Linked DNA regions of Homo sapiens: region 2 is linked to region 1. The links are contacts of gene promoters, found by promoter capture Hi-C in human tissues and cell types (Jung and others, 2019). All regions are on one chromosome and are shown on one strand. The core of a region is centred on a gene start or on the middle of the fragment in contact, and the rest is flanking DNA. Distances in the headings are between cores, read along the strand shown. Region 1 holds the start of UTRN (utrophin). Region 2 overlaps UTRN (utrophin).

The links. Contacts are between HindIII fragments. The study calls those that stand out against the background at their distance.
Region 2: a fragment that was not itself captured here is called in contact with the fragment with the promoter of UTRN in region 1 in 2 of the 25 tissues and cell types used here (hippocampus and spleen).

Annotation. Positions count from the first base shown.
Region 1 is chr6:144,283,991-144,286,690 of GRCh38, forward strand. UTRN (utrophin) reads left to right here and starts at 1,345. Exons shown (of 75, transcript NM_007124.3): 1 at 1,345-1,831. LOC124901418 reads left to right here and starts at 2,508. Exons shown (of 1, transcript XM_047419641.1): 1 at 2,508-2,700. The coding sequence starts at 2,681. RefSeq lists an enhancer at 715-784 and silencers at 915-974, 1,185-1,284. The HindIII fragment of the contact is 2,482 bases long and covers 1,062-2,700 here.
Region 2 is chr6:144,705,035-144,707,743 of GRCh38, forward strand. All of the region lies in intron 53 of UTRN (utrophin), which reads left to right. Among named protein-coding and RNA genes, the nearest start is that of SNORA98, 300 kb to the left of the region's middle. The HindIII fragment of the contact is 4,616 bases long and covers 1-2,709 here.

The DNA.
Region 1 (2,700 bases), core at 95-2,594:
TTATTTGGCTTATACGTAGAAAATCATCAAAAGGAAGGAAACTGTCCTAGAAACCTTACAAGGAAGAGTCTCTTTTGGGAATCTCCTACCTGCCCCCTCCCTGGAGCACTTAGGGATGGATGGGGGAAACTTTCACTATAACAAAAGGCGAGTAAACTCTTTCTGAAAATTAGTTTAAGGCCCCTAGTGGTTTAATCTTTACTGCCGCGTAAATTAACTCAAATATTAAGCCAGCAATAAACCGGCGCTCCAGTATCAACCATCCTTTTCTCTGTTAATACGAACTAGGAACTCAGGTTGCTGTTTTCTTTCCCCTCCCACGTGTGCTGATCGTGTAAAAGAATCACAGGAACACACGAGCAATGAAATGTGTAAATAAGAAAAATGCACACACATCACGAGCTCATTTCTTCCCAGATATTTTTTGGTCAACCTCTCAAGCTTGGAACAGGCTCTATAACAGATGTGCGTTTGTGTGTGCATATTGGAAAACAGAAAAATAAGGTCAGCGCAAACACTACTTGTAATACAAACTAATGTAAGAGAAAACTTCTTTTTCAATATTAACAACGACACTAGAGAAATAATGTAAAATAAATATACGGTTGGAACTAGGGGTAAAAAAAAAATCAGCAACGTCAGCAAACTGAGATGGGGTGAGTTGGAAGGCAGATTGGAATTTATCTCTTAAAAAAATATCACCCTAACTAGAGACCTGTTTTGCCTAAGGGGACGTGACTCACATTTTCGGATAATCTGAATAAGGGGAATTGTGTCTGCTCGAGGCATCCATTCTGGTTCGGTCTCCGGACTCCCGGCTCCCGGCACGCACGGTTCACTCTGGAGCGCGCGCCCCAGGCCAGCCAAGCGCCGAGCCGGGCTGCTGCGGGCTGGGAGGGCGCGCAGGGCCGGCGCTGATTGACGGGGCGCGCAGTCAGGTGACTTGGGGCGCCAAGTTCCCGACGCGGTGGCCGCGGTGACCGCCGAGGCCCGGCAGACGCTGACCCGGGAACGTAGTGGGGCTGATCTTCCGGAACAAAGTTGCTGGGCCGGCGGCGGCGGGGCGAGAGCGCCGAGGGGGAGCCGGAGCGCTGCAGAGGCGCGGGCCGGAGGGCTGGCGCTGATCTGCACCCTTCTCATCTGGAGAGCGGACCCCTGGCTGCCCGGAGGCGAGCCCCTTCCCGGGGGGTGGGGGCGGCAACGCGCGACCCAGCGGTCCTGCGCCCCACCCTCCCTCCTCCGCCTCCAGCGCTCGGCTCCAACAAAGGGGCAGGCCCGCAGCGGGGAGGAGGAGGAGGAGCCGCCGAAGGAGCGAGCCTCTCTCGCGCACAAAGTTGTGGAGTCGTTTTTCCTCGGAGCAGGGAAGCGGGCAGCAGCAGCCGGCCGCGGGCTTTCTCCCGCCGAGGGGCGAGGAGGAGCCTCTGGCTCCAGAAGCCGATTGGGGAATCACGGGGAGCGGCGCCCCCCTTCTTTTGGGTCATTTCTGCAAACGGAAAACTCTGTAGCGTTTGGCAAAGTTGGTGCCTGCGCGCCCCTTCCAGGTTTGCGCTTTGACTGTTTTGTTTTTGGCGGAACTACCAGGCAGGAAGATTGCACAAGTAAGGGGCGTTTTCAGTCGGGTGTCAATTTCTCTTTCTTTCTTTCTTTTTTTAAAATTTCGGTTCGTGTCTGCTTCTCCAAGCTTTATTTTTTTTTTTAAATACATCGCACCACCAAACTAACACTCGCACACACCCCCGCGGTTACTCCGTGTCAAACTCCTAGAGGAGCCCTTGGCCAGCTCGGGGTGCGGCGGTGGCGACCGGCAGGCGAGGAGGCCCGCGGGCAGCAGGTAAGCCCATGCATTATTGAAGCCTCGGGCTGGTAATGTGACTACAGCCCCCGAGGGAATGGGGCGGGGGCCGGGAGGAGGATGGCTCTTTCTGTGGTTCTTCCGCCTGGGATCGGCGTCCCGAGCTGCTTCCCAAGTCCCAGAGTCGAAGATGGGAGTAACTTTTGCGTGCCCTTTCCTCGGGGCCTCAGTTTAGCTCCCCGCGGTGCGAGAGAGAATGCCGGAGGCGTGGAGAGCTCGGGCGTGGAGGTCCTTGGGATCCGTACTAGTTGTGAACGATCCAAACTTATCTGACCAGCTCTGTGCTGCCTCCCTGCTCCCCTAATCTTCCTCCCCGCCGGGGTGACAGAGTCGCCCTCCGTGCATCGCGCGGTGCAGGGCGCTGGGCCAGTGATTTGCAAGAGGGGACGTGGCCTCTTAGGAGAGTCTGTCACAGACACCCGGGCCCGGGGAAGGCGGGGCTCCGGCGGTGTCCACAGGAGAGGGTGGGCAGAGGGTGGCTGTGTGGTCGGCGGCCAGCGGAGCGCTTCCCAGCCAGCCGCCCGGCGGGGAACGTGCTTGACCTCTGGGTGGTTGCTGCTCCCAAGGGTGGGGCTCCGGAGAGTGTGGCGCGATCGCCAAGCTCCCTGGCAGCGGCCCTGGAGAGACTGAGGGGACAGGAGGAGGGGGGCGCCCCATTGGTGTGTAGTCCCGCGCAGTCGCCGGCTCTCCTTTTCCGGACTCTGGGGATCTCTTGCTGCAACTGACAAGGTAATTCATGCCCCGCTTTGGCCCGGGGTCCGAGGCTGTGGTTGCTCAAGGCCACTTAAAAACCAACAAAGCACCAATTGAAGGCTGTGCAACTTTCAGATGGCAGGTTGTTCAAAGGA
Region 2 (2,709 bases), core at 11-2,510, 420 kb after region 1:
TGTGAGTAAAGGTTTGAAAGTCCAGTGTCACATTTTTTAATGTGAGACACAAGATCTGTAATGTAGATAATCTACTGTGAATTGTGTGTGGCCATGGGTTTTAGGGTGCACTGGAGGCAGGTAAGGAGGGTTGTTGGCTCCTCATAGGTGTGATAATTTGGGTTAGAGGTGTGAGTGAGGTACTGGTAGTAGAAAAGGCACTGAGCTAGAATGAGAATACTTTTATTTAAAGGCTGGCTCTGTCACTGATGACCTGGGTGACCCTGAAAAAGTCATTTGACTTACCCAAGCTTCAGTGTATGGAAATAAGTAGTATCTTAGTTCCTTTGGGCTGCAGTAACAAAATACTATAAACTGGGTGGCTTATAAACAATAGAAATTTATTTCTTACAGTTCTGAAGGCGGAGAAGTTCAAGATCAGTGCACTAGTAGATTTGGTGTCTGCCAAGGGCCCACTGTCTGGTTCATGGATGATGTCATCTCACTGTGTCCTCCCATAGTGGAAGGTAGTCTTTTATATGATACTGATCCCATTGATGACAGCTCCTCACTCATGCCCTAATCACCTTCCAAAGACCCACCTCCCAATACCATCACTATGGGAGTTAGGATTTCAACCTGTAAATTTTGGTGACACATAGACATTCAAACTGTAGCAAGTAGTTCCATTTCTACACAGAATTGTTCTGACAATCAAATGAAATAGTGGAAATGAAAGTAATTTAGGAAAAGTAAAGTGCTGAAGGGCAGTATATAATTTTATTTAATTATGTATATTCTGTCAAAAGCAACCTTCTTTACCAATTGCCAAGAGTAATGTTTTAAAATTACGTTACTATAAATATTATATAAAATATATATAATTAACATTAATTCATACTAATATAAATCTACATTATTACAGTTAGGGCTAATGATTATGCATTTGTAGATTTAGAGCAATATTTAAAGAAGTGTGGTACCTACCCGTAATTATTTATCTTACTGAACATCATCAGTCATAATTATCGAATAGTCTAAGCATAGTTTAACCTTAGCCTTGCATCCAAGAATTCCCTTCCTAAGAGTTTATTTAATAGTTTTTGGCCAGTGTTCGAACATAAACCTAAGTCTCTAACTTATCCTGAGTCTTTTCTTGAAATCAAAATCTCTTATGGGTGTGTAAGAGATTGCTCTATATTTCAGGGCAGCTTTTTTTTTTTTTAAGTCCTTGAAAATGTCCTTTTCCTCTGCTGTCATATTCCATTGATCAGGAAAAGTCTTTATTTAGTGTATATTCATGTATAATTTAGAATTGTCAATTACTGGACTGAAAGAACCCTAAGAAATAAGAGTCCAGTCCTCTTATTTACGGTAGAGGAACATGAGAGGCACAGTGTAGTTTAAGCAAACCTGAGTTTTCATCCCTCCTTCCCTCTCTTACTTTCATTTACTTACTATATGCCTGGCAGTTTATTTTATTTTTTAAGGAAAAATAACTTTATTTTGAAAAAAAATCAATTCTCTATTTAAAGCATACATGAGACAGCATCTTTCATTTAGTCCTAAACTTGATTACGTATTCTCATTATAATATTCCAATGACATTCTGCAAATACATTTCAAGTATGTCATCATATACTTATTGGTAAATATCAAACAAAGCTACTGACTGTGAGGGAAAATTTTCCGTAATTTTTTTTACCTACCCAGAGATACTCATCCCACTGTATATCTGGGATTTTTATGAACATTTACAAATTTTAACAAAATTCTTTTTTTTCCCATTGCATGCATCAATATGCTAAATTCTCCACTACAATCCAGGTAAAATACTGATAGTGTGTGAAAACCCAGTGTATTTTCTAATACTGCCCATGATAGACAGAGTGAAATTACAGCATAAAGAGTAGCCAGGAACCTATACTGTAAACATTATTTGGCTCCAAGTATCTTGCAACAAATAGCTACTAATAGGACTATACATAGCACATAGAGCACAGCAATCCTGGATTGTAGTATGCCTGTAAAACCCTTTAAAGCATTTTTTCTCAACCTTTTTATCATTACCCTCCTTTTCAATTACAAAAATTAAATTCAAATTAAATTAAATAGCTTTAACTATAAATTTCTTCCTAATGAGAGAAATTAATACAAAAGATTTTGTTGGGTAGGCTGATTTTGGAAGGTCACAATCCATATCTAAGATTTTTTTCACCCCAAGAACCAATTTTTGTTCCCAGTTGAGAATGTAAGGGTTAAAGTTGATGAAATAAATTAAATAGCCTTTAACATTATTAGAGAGAAAAAAACCTAATGGGTAACAATGGAGATTGAGATAGTTGACTTCTAGACCATCTCTGTTCCATACTTGCTGTATGATCAGGGAAGAAATCATGTCTCTTTATTTTGTTGTTTGGGAGAACACAGGAATAGCATAAAACCTAATAGCTTGGAAAAATCACTTAATCTCACTGGACTCAGTGAGGCTATTAATTGAAAGAATTGGTATAGATCAGTTGTTTTCAATTCTGGCTGCACTTTCCTAGGACATATAAAAGATATCAATGCTCAGTTATATTTACCCAGGCCAATTAAGCCAGTCTCTGGAGGATATGGGCTCAACCTATAGTGTAAATCAGAATCACCTGATGGGCTTGTTAAGCCACAGATTGGTAGGCCCCACTTTCAGAGCTTCTGATTCAGCAGGTTTTGGGTGGGGCCTGCAAA